3 separate regions of the Homo sapiens genome follow, and regions 2 and 3 are each linked to region 1. Evidence: promoter capture Hi-C in human tissues and cell types (Jung and others, 2019). All regions are on one chromosome and are shown on one strand. Each heading gives the region's core, a stretch centred on a gene start or on the middle of the fragment in contact. The rest is flanking DNA. Distances are from core to core; before and after follow the strand shown.

The links. The method cuts DNA at HindIII sites, captures the fragments that hold promoters and counts their contacts. A contact is called where the count stands out against the background at its distance.
Region 2: the fragment with the promoter of ASF1B here is called in contact with the fragment with the promoter of NDUFB7 in region 1 in 1 of the 25 tissues and cell types used here (spleen).
Region 3: a contact is called between a fragment that was not itself captured here and the fragment with the promoter of NDUFB7 in region 1, in 5 of the 25 tissues and cell types used here (H1 embryonic stem cells, adrenal gland, mesendoderm cells and 2 more).

Annotation. Positions count from the first base shown.
Region 1 is chr19:14,569,404-14,574,005 of GRCh38, reverse strand. It overlaps NDUFB7 (NADH:ubiquinone oxidoreductase subunit B7), which reads left to right and starts at 1,940. Exons shown (of 3, transcript NM_004146.6): 1 at 1,940-2,117. The coding sequence starts at 2,006. RefSeq lists an enhancer at 1,719-2,008. The HindIII fragment of the contact is 12,939 bases long and covers 1-4,602 here.
Region 2 is chr19:14,134,774-14,139,375 of GRCh38, reverse strand. ASF1B (anti-silencing function 1B histone chaperone) reads left to right here and starts at 2,787. Exons shown (of 4, transcript NM_018154.3): 1 at 2,787-3,028. The coding sequence starts at 2,920. ADGRL1-AS1 (ADGRL1 antisense RNA 1) reads right to left here and starts at 2,224. Exons shown (of 3, transcript NR_045214.1): 1 at 2,153-2,224. RefSeq lists enhancers at 2,142-2,301, 1,798-2,424, 2,502-2,641 and a silencer at 2,972-3,021. The HindIII fragment of the contact is 6,304 bases long and covers 1-4,602 here.
Region 3 is chr19:14,923,957-14,928,558 of GRCh38, reverse strand. It overlaps the pseudogene OR7A15P. Among named protein-coding and RNA genes, the nearest start is that of OR7C2, 15 kb to the left of the region's middle. The HindIII fragment of the contact is 7,045 bases long and covers 1-4,602 here.

The DNA of each region.
Region 1 (4,602 bases), core at 691-3,190:
GCTTGTAGTCCCAGCTACTCGGCAGGCTGAGGCAGGAGAATGGCGTGAACCCGGGAGGCGGAGCTTGCAGTGAGCCGAGATTGCGCCACTGCACTCCAGCCTGGGCAACGGAGCAAGACTCCGTCTCAAAAAAAAAAAAAAAAAAATTAGCTGGCCGTGATGGCACCCACCTGTAATCCCAGCTACTTAGGAGGCTAAGGCAGGAGAATCGCTTGAAACCAGAAGGCGGAGGTTGCGGTGAGCCGAGATCACACCACTGCACTCCAGCCTGGGCAACAAGAGTGAAACTCTGTCTCAAAAAAAAAAAAAAAAAAGAAAGAAAAAGAAAAGTCTCTATTGCCAGTTGTCTATTCTCAATAGCTTGCTTTTTTCACTTAATATATCAGCAGCCACTTCCCCATGTCAACACATAAAGATCTAGTTGAGTAATTCTCCCAAAGCTGGTCACTAGACCAGCAACATCACATCACCTGGGAATTTTTATAGACAGGGTCTCACTCTGTTGCCTAGGCTGGAGTGCAGTGATGGGATCACGGCTCACTGCAGCCTGGAACTCCTGGGCTCAAGTTATCCTCCTGCCTCAGCCTCCCGAGTAGCTGGGACTACAAGCGTGCACCACCACACCCAGCTTTTTTTTTTTTTTTTTTTTTTGTAGAGATAGAGTCTCCCTATATTGCCCAGGCTGGTCTCAAACTCCTGAGTTCAGGCGATCCTCCCATCTCAGCTTCCCAAAGCTCTGAGATTACAGGTGTGAGCCACTGCCCTGGCCCATATTTTTTTTTTTCCATTAGACTGTTTTTCTGTTCCATTAGACTGTAAGCTTGAAAGACAGGAACCACGTCTGCCTTTCTGTCTGACCACTGGACCCAGCATACCATACAGTAGATGCCTAATACATGCTTTGTCAGACTGGGGAAAAATATATATTAGATATTAATATTAGATATTAATATATTTTAAAATTGTATAAAGATTGCATATATATATATAATTTATTTGAAATTTCAGCTTTAAATAATTGTTTTTGACCAGGCACAGTGGCTTACGCCCATAATCCCAACACTTTGAGAGGCTGAGGCGGGAGGATCCCTGGAGCCCAAGAGTTCAAGGTTGCAGTGAGCTATGATTGTGCCACTGTGCTCCAGCCTGGGCGACAGAATGAGACCCTATCTCAAAAAATAATAATATAATAATAACTGTATTTATGAATAACTTTTATTTAAATTAAATTTATCAAAATCTTTCTTGGACAGGCACTGTGGCTCATGCCCGTAATCCCAGCAATTTGGGAGGCTGAGGCGGGGGAATCACTTGAGGTCAGGGGTTCGAGACCAGCCTGGCCAACTGGCGAAACCCCGTCTCTACTAAAAATACAAAAATTAGCTGGGGGTGGTGGCGGGCGCCTGTAATCCCAGCTACTCAGGAGGCTGAGGCAAGAGAATTTGAGCCCAGGAGGTGGAGGCTGCAGTGAGCCGAGATCGCGCCAATACACTCCAGTCTGGGCGACAGGTACTGTGTCTCCAAAAACAAAAAATTCTTAAAGTGACTTTATGCAAAATTACATACATTAACGATATAATAGATATCGTGCCTTTTTTAAGAGAAATTTGAATGTTTTCAAAGAAAAAACTTTTTGGAAAATGATATGAAAAATAATTTTAATATGTGCTTTAGCCTCGGGCTACCAGAAGAGCCCCAGATAGGGTCGAGGGAGGCCTCAGTCCCACACCGTCCCCTTCTGCCCCGCCCAGATGGATTTCCAGGCTCAGGGAAGTCCCCTCTCGGGTCCAACCATATCCTGCGAAGAGACACAGCACCTGTCCCGCCTCCGCCTGTCCGCGAGGTGACGCCAGGCGGACCGGAGCGATCCTCTGGAGTCCTTCATCTCTATGATCTCCGCAGCTGCCTAAATGACCCGGAAGCTGTGTCTGACTGAGGGGTCAGTGGTTCCGGGTAGGAGCTAGGTGACCCTCGGCTGCTGCAGGGATCTGCAGCGACTGCAGCCATGGGGGCCCACCTGGTCCGGCGCTACCTGGGCGATGCCTCGGTGGAGCCCGACCCCCTGCAGATGCCAACCTTCCCGCCAGACTACGGCTTCCCCGAACGCAAGGAGCGCGGTGAGGCCCAGTGCGCAGGCGCAGCCAGAGGGCGTGGGGCGCGGGTGCCTGAACACCTGGCACCCCAGGGCTGGCACCCCAGGGCTGGGCTCTAACCTCAGGTGTTGTATCTGGGTTTGGGTCTAGACTAGGAGTCCACAGGACGTGCATGACCCCACCTCAGTGTGGAGGCGTTCCAGCCCAAGGGCACGGCTTGAGCAAAAGCCAGGGAGCAAAAGTGAGGCGACAAGTGGGGGTTCGGGCAGGAATGCGACGCGCAGAGCTGGGTCGAGTCTTTTTTTTTTTTCTTTTGAGACGGAGTCTCGCTTTTTCTTTCAGGCTGGAGTGCAGTGGCTTGGTCTCGATTCACTGGCAGCCTCCACCTCCCGGGTTCAAGCGATTCTCCTGCCTCAGCCTCGCGAGTAGCTGTGATTACAGATGTGTACCACCATGCCCAGCTACTTTTTTGTATTGTTAGTAGAGACGGGGTTTCTCCTTGTTGGCCAGGCTGCTCTTGAACTCCTGACCTCAAGTGATCCGCCCGCCTCGGCCTCCCCAAGTGCTGGGATCGCAGAAGTCAGTCACCACGCCCGGCCTCGGGCCAAGTCTTGGGGGACGTGGGGAGTCATGGGAGGGCAGGGACACGTTCATTGTACCCCCTTCCTGATGTCACTGCAATTGTGGGGTATGCACAAGGAAATAAGGAAGATTCGAGCTGCAAATACTGTCCTGCAAAGTGCTTTGTTTTGCTTTGAGACGGGATCTTGCTCTGTTGCCCAGGCTGAGTGTAGTGGCACAATCACAGCTCATTGCATCCTCGACCTCCTGGGCTCAAATGATCCTCCCGCCTCAGCCTCCCGAGTAGCTGGGACTACAGGAGCGCCCCAGGATGCCAGACTGATTTTTTATTTTTTGTAGAGTTGGGGGTCTTGCTGTGTTGCCCAGGCTGGTCTCAAACTCCTGGGCTCAAACGATCCTTCTGCCCAGCCTCCCAAAGTGCTGGGATTGAAGATGTGAGCCACTACGCCCAGGATGGTTTTTTGGTTCGTGTGTTTGTTTTTGCTTTTAATGTAGTAATATCACAGGCATACCGAGCACCAGCTCTGGGCCACGTCCCACATTAGGCACCGCGGATACAGCAGGGAACTGGAGGGATGCAGGCACTGTCTCCAGAGAACTCAGCACAGTGGGAAAGATTGTGGAATCAGGCAGAGCTGGGGGTGTCAAAGCAGGCTTCCAAGAGGCAGTGGCTGGAAACAAAGACGTGAAGGGTGGCCGGTCGTGGTGGCTCATGCCTGTAATCCCAGCACTTTGGGAGGCTAAGGCGGGCAGATCACCTGGGGTCAGGAGTTTGAGACCAGCCTGGCCAACATGGTGAAACACCATCTCTACTAAAAATATAAAAATTGAGGCCGGGCATGGTGTCTCACACCCATAATCCCAGCACTTTGGGAGGCCGAGGCGGGCAGATCACGAGGTCAGGGGATTGAGACCATCCTGGCCAATGTGGTGAAACCCTGTCTCTACTAAAAATACAAAAATTAGCCAGGGGCGTGGTGGTGCACACCTGTAGTCCCAGCTACTCAGGAGGCTGAGGCAGGAGAATCGCTTGAACCCAGGAGGCAGAGGTTATAGTGAGCCGAGATCACACCACTGCACTCCAGCCTGGGCGACAGAGCAAGACTCCATCTCAAAAACAAAATACAAAAATTAAGCCGGGCACGGTGGCTTATGCCTGTAATCCCAGCACTTTGGGAGGCCAAGGCCGGTGGATCACCTGAGGTCAGGAGTTTGAGACCAGCCTGGCCAACATGGTGAAACCCCGTCTCTACTCTACTAAAAATACAAAAATTAGCCAGGTGTGGTGGCGCATGCCTGTAATCCCAGCTGTCTGGGAGGCTGAGGCAGGAGAATTGGCTGGAACCCAGGAGGCAGAGGTTGCAGTGAACCAAGGTCAGGCCACCACACTCCAGCCTGGGTGACAGAGCGAGACTGTCTGAAAAAACAAAACAAAACAAAACAAAGATGTGAAGGGGCATGAGTAGGGGTTGACCAAAGAGAGGTGGCAGAGCCAAGCTTCTAAGCAGAGGAGGGACACAATCAGTTTTGGTTGGTCAAAAGGTCACACTGTCTACTGAGTGGGCGACAAGCTTGAGACAGAGACCTCTAAGCAGCCTGGATTTGAGAGAAAGTTGGGAGATGGTATAATCACTCCAGTGTCCACACTCCGGGTAGTCCTTCCGCCCCAGCTGAACCTGCAGTTCATTGGTCCGTCCACCTTCCTCCCACTGCCTCACATACCTTGCTTTCCCCAAGATCAGCTTTGCAAACGCTAGCAACCTGCTGCCCTTCTCTCTTGCTTACTCTGGATAAACTCACCTCTTTCCCTTCCTTGGTGCCTATCCCCGTGCAACTGAACATAATGGGGGGCGGGGAGATAAGAAAAAAACAGCTCTAAGCCAGGCAAAATGGCTCATGCCTGTAATCCCAACGGTTTGGGAGGCAA
Region 2 (4,602 bases), core at 1,538-4,037, 440 kb after region 1:
GCACGGTGGCTCATGCCTGTAATCTCAGCACTTTGGGCGGCCGAGGTGAGTGGATCACCTGAGGTCAGGAGTTTGAGACCAGCCTGGCCAACATAGTGAAACCCCATCTTTACTAAAAATACAAAAATTAGCTGGGTAAGGTAGCGTGTGCCTGTAGTCCCAGCTACTCGGGAGGCTGAGGTGGGAGAATCGCTTGAAGCTGGAAGCAGGAGGTTGCAGTGAGCTGAGATTGCGCCACTGCATTCCAGCCTGAGTGACAGAGCAAGACTCCCTCTCAAAAAAAAAATAAAATAAAATAAAACAAATTAGGCATGGTGGCACGCACTGGTGATCCCAGCCACTCGGGAGGCTGAGGTGGGAGGATCACTTGAGCCCAAGAGTTCCAGGTTATAGTGAGCCACGATTATGCCACTTGCACTCCAGCCTGGGCAACAGACCTCTATTAAAAAAAAAAAATCCCACAGGAACTGGATTGTTTAAAAAGAAAAGGAAAAGGAAAACATACTAGCACAGTGAGTGAGTCCTAGTGAGCCCACAGAGGTGACTGGGTAAGAAATACTAGTGCCTTGGCTCAGTGCTGTTCAGGCGTACGGCCTGTGAGTTTGAACACTGTCCAGAGCACCCTTAGAAAGGCCTCTCTGGGGAGAGGACATTTGAACAGAGACTTGAATGACAAGAAGGCATAAGCCATGCCAAGAGCCTAGGAGAAGAGGTTCTGGGCAGAGGCTTTGCACTGGGAGTGGCTTGTCAGAATTTTAACAAAAAGAGGGTTACTTAGCCTGGTTTGAAGTTGGAGCTGGGTGGTTAACAGGAGACAAAGCATAGAGTTTCAAAGACAATGCTCTCATCCGGAGAAGTGACCTGGTCAAATGTGTTTCTGACCTTCGCTGTCCAGTAATACAGGAGCCACTTGTCACACGGGCTCAGGAGCACTCAACTGCGGCTATCAAGACAGCTAAACTGAACTTTCTTTTTTAAAATTTAATTTTAATTTTTAGAGACAGGGTCTCACTCTGACACTCAGGCTGGAGTGCAGTGGCTGGAGCATTCTGGGCTCAAGAGATCCTCCTGCCTCAGCTTCAGGAGTAGCAGACACTACAGGTATGCACTACCACACCTGGCTTATTCTTTTATTTTTTGTAGATATGAGGTCTTGTTATGTTGCCCAGGCTGATCTTGAACTCCTGGCCTCAAGAAATCCTCCATGACCAGCCTCTAAAATTACAAATAATAATAAAAAAAGATATGGCCGGGCACAGTGGCTCACGCCTGTAATCCCAGCACTCTGGAAGGCCGAGGCGGGCGGATCACTTGAGGTCAGGAGTTCGAGACCAGCCTGGCCAACATGGTGAAACCCCGTCTCTACTGAAAATACAGAAAAAAAATTAGCTGGTTGTGGTGGTGGGCACCTGTAATCCCAGCTACTCAGGAGGCTGAGGCAGGAGAATCGCTTGAACCCGGGAGGTAGAGGTTGCAGTGAGCCGAGATCGCGCCATTGCACTCCAGCCTGAGTGACAGCGCGAGATTCCATCTCAAAAAAAAAAAAGTGGCTTCCAAAAAATGTTAATTTTACACCTAATTTTGGTGCGCGGCTGGCATTATTTTTCCACTGGGCAGCACTGATCGCCCGTGGGGGCAGAGACTCTGAGACCTGGAGTCTCCCAGGCCGGGGGCGACGGCCCAGACGGGAGGCGGTGGAGAGAAGTTTCCGGATGTATTATGTGGTCATGAATCATGTCAGGGAATTGCCACGGCCCCCGTTGAATGGGGAGGCGCTGCCTCGGGCGCTGAGTAGCAGAGCCCGGACTCTGAACACTGGTCTGCCCCCGAACTGGAACTCCCATTTTCAGTACCGTCCGCTTGAAACCTCCCAAGAGCCCTCAAGGGGGCGAGAGAGGGATCCAAACCCCTCGGGGGCGAGAGCGGGATCCGAACCCCTCGGGGGCGAGAGCGGGATCCGAACCCCTCGGGGGCGAGAGCGGGATCCGAACCCCTCGGGGGCGAAAGCGGGATCCGAACCCGGCCGGATTCCCGAGGTCTGAGCGCGCCTCGTGACCGCCACTCCGAACGTTCGCAACGTTCACAACGGACTCCCGCGCCGCTGGACCTCAAGGGTCAGGAGCCACTCAGAAAAGCTCCAGGAAACGCTCACCTGTTGACAGACGCTGAGGCCGCAAACGCTCCTCCTCTCTCTTCACACTCGCCAACACCGCGGTGGCGCTCGACTTCCGCTTCTCTCCAGCGAATCCCCAGCTGAGCCTCCTTCTGCTCCCGCCACCATTACCAATCCAGCCAATAAACTCTCAGAAAACCCTCTTTATCTCCGCCCCACTCCCTCCTGCCAATCACTTCGGGTGCGAGCACCGCCCTTCCCGCCTTCTTTAGCGAGCGCCGCGCGCCACCGCTCGGCGGGTGGCGGCGCTGCGCGCTGCGGGATGCATCTCCCGGAAAAGCGAGGCGAGGGGCGGGCCACGCCGGTGCGGGAACCCTCAGGATTGGCCAGAAGGAGGCCGGCGCTGTGACTCCGTCCATTCCCGCCGTTGACATCCAAGTCGGAGACGCTGGGGATTGGTTTCCAGCGGACACGCTAAGAAGCTTGGAGATAGTTTCGCCCTCCTCACACGCTGCGGAGAGGGAGCTCCGCTGATTGGTCCGAGGAGTCTGGGCGCGCGCCGATCGGCGCTCCAGGACTGGCTGAGGGGGTGCGCGCGCCGCCAGGGAGCGTTGGCGGTGATTGGCCAGAGGGCGGAGGCCGGCTATTTGAAGGCGGCGCGCGGACTAGGTGCGCACTTCAGTTCTCGGAGAGAAGAGGCGGGAGTGGACCTGGTCAGCCCTACCCCACTGACCCCACCGGACCCAGGCGCGGCCTCCGCCACAGCCACAGCCCCTGCCCCTGCTGCGGCGCGGCGAGGCGAGGCGATGGCCAAGGTGTCGGTGCTGAACGTGGCGGTCCTGGAGAACCCGAGCCCTTTCCACAGCCCCTTCCGGTTCGAGATCAGCTTCGAGTGCAGTGAAGCCCTGGCGGACGGTGAGGCTGGGCCTGTGCGGGGACCCCCACCCCCGGGCCGACCCCGGCCTCCCCTCAGAGAACCGCTCCCATGGCCAACTTGATCTCCCCCATGAAACCCCTCGTCCCCCTTCCGCCAACCCCGATCTCCCCCAGCCCGCCAGTCAACCGGATCTCCCGGTGGAGACCCCCCGCCACCAGCCAACACGGACCTCCCCGTGACCTCCTCCCCCACTGCCCGCCTTGACCTCCCGGGTGGAGACCCCCCGCCAGCTAACTCGGACCTCCCAGTGGCCTCTTCCCCCACTGCCCGCCCCGACCTCCCCATAGAGATTAACCCCCTCCAAGCCCCATTTCCCGCGTGGGGAACCTCATCCATCTTTTTTCTCTGGAGCTCTTCCTAGGTACCCGTTTTCATGGGGAGACCTTCTCGGCCTCCATTTCTTAACCCACGGAGATCTTCAGCCACCGTGGTTTCCCTGTGGCAAGACCCCCGCTTCAACCACCCACCCATTTTTGCCCACTTATTCCCTCTTTCCTGTAGTGAGATACTCACACCTCCCATTTTCCCTCTGGAGACCCCCAATATCCAGCCCCTTCCCATTTTCCCCGGGGGAAATCCCAGCCATCTCCTATTTTCCCTATGGAGACCTCTCACCCAAGCTCCTCTCTCCTTGCCGTGAAGACCCTCCCCTCCAGTAACCTTTTTTTCCTGTGAAAACCCCTCAACCCCTTTTCAGGACCTCTCTCAACCCCATCTTCCCATTTGTGTCCCACCAGTCCCCTCCCCAACCTGCCAATATTTCAATAACCCCACGCCCACCAGTTGCTGCCGCTTTTCTGCCCCAATGCACATACCCTGGAACCTGGTTTCTCTCCTTCGTTGGGGCCCAACCCCCCTATGCTTGAGCTCTCCCTGGGAAAGGATGCTACCGTCTTTGAGGGGAACTTTGTCTCCCCAGCTCCCCTTCCCCACCTTTCTCTGTGGGCTTGGATAAACACACTGAGATCCGAGGGGTGGCATAGCCAGGCAGGCATTAGCTAGTTCTCCAGGTTTGCCCACCCGTTTCCAGCTGAGTTACTGCAGCAATTTTTCTGTCACTTTTTCTTTCTTCTTCTTCCTCTTCTTTTTTTTTTTTTTTTTTTTGAGACAGTCTCACTCTGTTGCCCAGGCTGGAGTGCAATGGCACGATCTCGGCTCACTGCAACCTCCACCTCCCGAGTTCAAGCGATTCTTCTGCCTCAGCCTCCCGAGTAGCTGGGACTACAGGCGCCTGTCACCACGCCCAGCTAATTTTAGTATTTTTAGTGGAGGCAGCGTTTCACCATGTTAGCCAGGTTGGTCTCGAACTCCTGACCTCAAGTGATCCACCCGCCTTGGCCTCCCAAAGTGCTGGGATTACAGGCGTGAGCCACCGTGCCCCGTCTTCTTCTTTTTTTTTTTTAATATAGCTGGATAATCAGTGCCAAGCTCCCGTTGCTTTTGATGGTCTGACCTAGTCTGGGGGGTGGGTGGATTGGGCTGAGCTGTGACGGGCTCCAGCTTCAAACAGTCGGCTGGAGCTTGGAGGTCACAGCCTCCTGTACATCTTTTC
Region 3 (4,602 bases), core at 1,527-4,026, 350 kb before region 1:
TATTAGAGAGAGAGGAAAGCTTAATAATAGGAGTTGCTTAAATTTGATGAAGCAGTTGAGATAAAAGAAATGGAAACTTCAGGAAATAAATAGAGCAATTTCCAGCCCGGCGCAGTGGCTCACGCCTGTAATCCCAGCACTTTGGGAGGCAGAGGCGGTTGGATCACGAGGTCAGGAGATCAAGACCATCCTGGCTAACATAGTGAAACCCCGTCTCTACTGAAAATACAAGAAATTAGCCGGGTGCGGTGGTGGGTGCCTGTAGTCCCAGCTACTCGGGAGGCTGAGGCAGCAGAATAGCATGAACCCAGGAGGTGGAGCTTGCAGTGAGCGGAGATGGCGCCACTGCACTCTGGCCTGGGCAGCAGAGCAAAACTCTGTCTCAAAAAAAAAAAAAAAAAAAAAAAAGAGCAGTTTCCACTTCCATGATCTGATTAAACAACAGCAATATCTGGCTCTGAGGCTTTGAGCCTTGCAATCATGGATATAGCTTCAGCCCTAGGACAACTGGCCCTTTTCTAGTTTCCCTCCCAAAGAATTCTTCAGAGCCCTCTTTATGTCCTTATTCCTCAGGCTGTAGATGAAGGGGTTCAGCATGGGGGTGACCACAGTGTACCTCACTGAGGCTATTGCACCTGAGTGTGAGTTGTGGGATGCAGCCGAGCTAAGGTACACTCCTAGGCTTGTACAGTAAAACAAGGAGACAACTGAGAGGTGAGACGGACAGGTGGAAAATGCCTTATACTTCCCTTGAGCTGATGAGATTGCACATATGGAGGAAACTATCTTAGAGTAAGAGTAAAGGATCCCAGCGAGACATCCCCCCACCCAGCAGCACAGCTGCCAGATACATCACCATGTCATTAAGAAAGGTGTCAGAACAGGCAAGGTGGATGACCTGATTAAGTTCACAGAAAAAGTGGGGGATTTCCAACTCTCTGCATAAGGACAACTGCAGCACCATTAAGCTATGTAATAAGGAATGCAAGACACTTGTGATCCAGGATACCAGAACCAGCAATCCACAGAGTTGAGGGTTCATGATGACCGTGTAGTACAGGGGGTGACAGATGGCCACAAACCGGTCATAGGCCATCACAGTCAGGAGGAAGCTGTCCAATCCTACAAAATGTATGAAAAAGTACATCTGGGTGATGCAGCCTGCAGAGGTGATGACTTTGCTCTGTGCCTGGATATTCACCAGCATCTTTGGGACCCTGGTGGAGGCAAAACAGATGTCTACAAAGGACAGGTTGGAGAGAAAGAAGTACATGGAGGTGTGGAGGTGGGAGCATAAAATGATAACCAGGATGATAAGCAAGTTTCCAAATACAATGATGAGGTACATGGATAAGAACACTCCAAAGAGAAATCGTTATGCTCTGGTTTCTCTTCAAATTGTATAAATCTTTTGCCTTTTACCAAAGAGAAATCGTTGCAGTCTGGGTTCTTCTGAAAATCCCAGAAGTCGAAATTCTGAAATTCGTGTATCATTCTCTGGTTCCATGTGGTAGAGGTGACTATAAAAAAAAAAAAAAGAGAGAGAGAGAAAATACATGACATAAGCATGCTTTTTTCACCCATCAGAAAAGCTATTATTTATATCCTACAGTCAGCAAGTTAATTTCTATATTTTGTGTGTGAATCTGGTCTACTTTATGAGATCTCCCATCCCATCTCTGCTTAGGAATTCCTTTCCCATGATGCTCAACTTTTCCCCAAATGGTCATTTATTTAAAAACTTTGCCGGGTGCGGTGGCTCACACCTGTAATCCCAGCACTTTGGGAGGCAGAGGTGGGCGGGTCACCTGAGGTCGGGAGTTCAAGACCAGCCTGACCAACATGGAGAAAACCCATCTCTACTAAAAATACAAAGTTAGCCGGATGTGGTGGTGCGTGCCCGTAATCCCAGCTACTCGGGAGGTTGAGGCAGGAGAATCATTTGAACCTGAGAGGCAGAGGTTGCAGGGAGCCAAGATGGCGCCATTGCACTCCATCCAGCCTGGGCTACAAGAGCAAAACTCCATCTCAAACAAAACAAAACAAAACAAAACAAAAACCAATACTTTAATGATAAATTCTTTCATGGATTTGAGGAATTTAAATTGAGTGTTGTCAACGTTCCAGGCTCTGTCTAGACAATGAGTGAACAGTGCTGAAAAACAAAAGTTCCTACAGTGAAGTATGGAGAAGAATACAAGTAAATCATATACTGTGTCAGATGGTAACCAGGGCTAGCAAGAAAAAGAAAGAAGGTAAAAAGGCGAGGGTGGATAGAGGATGTTAATTTTCCTAGGTGTCCAGAGAATACTAGCAGTCAAGGTGATAGGTGCCCATCAATAGTGGATTGGACAAAGAAACTGTGGTACTTATACACCATGGAATACTAGGCAGCCATAAAAAAGAATGAAATCATGTCCTTTCCAGCTACATGGATGAAGCTAGAGGCCGTTATTCTGAGCGACCTAATGCAAGAACAGAAAACCAAATATCGCATGTTCTCACTTATAAATGGTAGCTAAACATCGAATATACGTGAACACAAAGATGGGAACAATTGACACTGGAGACCGCTGGACAGAGGATGGAGGGAGGGGGATGTGAGCTGAAGAACCATCTGTTGGGTCCTATGCTTACCTCCTGAGTGATGGGATTGTTAGGACCCGAAGCCTCAGCATCACACAATTTACCCGTGTAACAAACCTGCACATGTACCCTTTAATCTGTAAGAAAAGCTGAAATTTTTAAAAAGAGAAATGAGACCTCAAGGAAGACAGGGCGGGAGCCATGAGGATATCTGGGAATGTGTGTGCCCAGCAGAAAGAATGGCCGGTGCAAAGGTGTAGAGGAAGGTTTCAGATGTTCAAGGCCAACGAGGAAGCCAGTGTGGCAGGGAAATCTGTGAGAGGTAAGTGATGGGAGATGGTGTCAGAAGATGTTGCACTATGAGGTGACTTCATTGCTGCTGAAGCTTCAAAATACAAGAAGTCCCTCTGCCCAGATTTTGTTTGGTTTGGTTTGGTTTTGAGACAGAGTCTCACTCTGTCGGCCAGGCTGGAGTGCAGTGGCATGATGTGGGTTCACTGCAACCTCCACCTCCTGGGTTCAAGAGATTCTCCTGCCTCAGCCTCCCAAGTAGCTGAGACTACAGGTGCCTGCTACCATGCCCTGCTAAGATTTATATTTTTTGGTAGAGATGGGGCTTCACCATGTTGGCCAGGCTGGTCTCAAACTCCTGACCTCAAGTGATCCTTTTGTCTCGGCCTCCCAAAGTGCTGGGATTACAGGCGTGAGCCACCACGCCCAGGCTTGTCCTGATGTTTTCTATTTGCACTTTAATAAATTGGCTCCATGTCCCATGAATTGAAATGCATCCTTTGTTTATTTCCATATGCTGCCTTGCGTGCTGACCTCTGTATTCTGAGTCACCTTTTGGAATATATTGAGTCCAGGTCCCTTTACTTTTTTTTTTTTTTTTTTTTTTTTTGAGACGGAGTCTCGCTCTGTTGCCCAGGCTGGAGTTCAGTGGCGCGATCTCGGCTCACTGCAACTTCCGCCTCCCAGGTTCACACCATTCTCCTGACTCAGCCTCCCAAGTAGCTGGGACTACAGGCGCCCGCCACCACGCCCGGCTAATTTTTTTGCATTTTTAGTAGAGGCAGGGTTTCACCATGTTAGCCGGGATGGTCTCGATCTCCTGACCTCGTGATCTGCCTGCCTCGGCCTCCCAAAGTACTGGGACTACAGGCGTGAGCCACTGCGTCCCTCTACTCTTAAAAGGGATATCTCTACCTCATTTGTATGTCATATTCTTTTATGCCTAGGTCTTTGCAACTTTAATTATTTATCCATGTTGAAAACATTAAATTATTGCTACTTCATATCTTGTTTCAGTTAATTAGCAAGGCTCCTTTCAATTCTGTTTAATGATGTTATTTTGAAATCACTCTCCCCACTAAAGACAGACACACATATGCACAATTAGTACAGACACACACACAGGCACACACTTGAAGCTGAATGAGGACTCCTGGGACTGTGTTTATAGCAAGCTGTTCTCACCTCCAGTCACACCATTAATATTAGAGAGGAATGGAAATGAAGCAAGCTTTCAATATCAGATTATCTTTCCATTTTTTTGTATGGTCATGTTCTGTCTTCTGTTTAAAAAAACATAAAAAATTATAAAAATACAACAATTTTGCTTGATAAACATACAGAGGATAATTAAATAAAACCCAAGGGGGGAAAATCTAATAACCTCAGATAATTCCTGGGAGACTAGGAAGAAGAAATAGCTTGCTTGAATGAATTAATGGCATTCGCAGTGACCTGGATGAGATTGGAGACAATTATTCTTTTTTTTTTTTTTGAGACAAAGTCTCCCTCTTTTCCCCCAGGCTGGAGTGCAATGGCATGATCTCAGCTCACTGCAACCTCCACCTCCCACGTTCAAGTGATTCTCATGTCTTAGCCTCCTGAGTAGCTGGGATTACAGGCACCTGCCACCACGCCCGGCTAATTTTTATAGTTTTAGTAGAGATGGGGTTTCACCCTGTTGACCAGGCTGGTCTCGAACTCCTGACCGAAGGTGATCTGCCC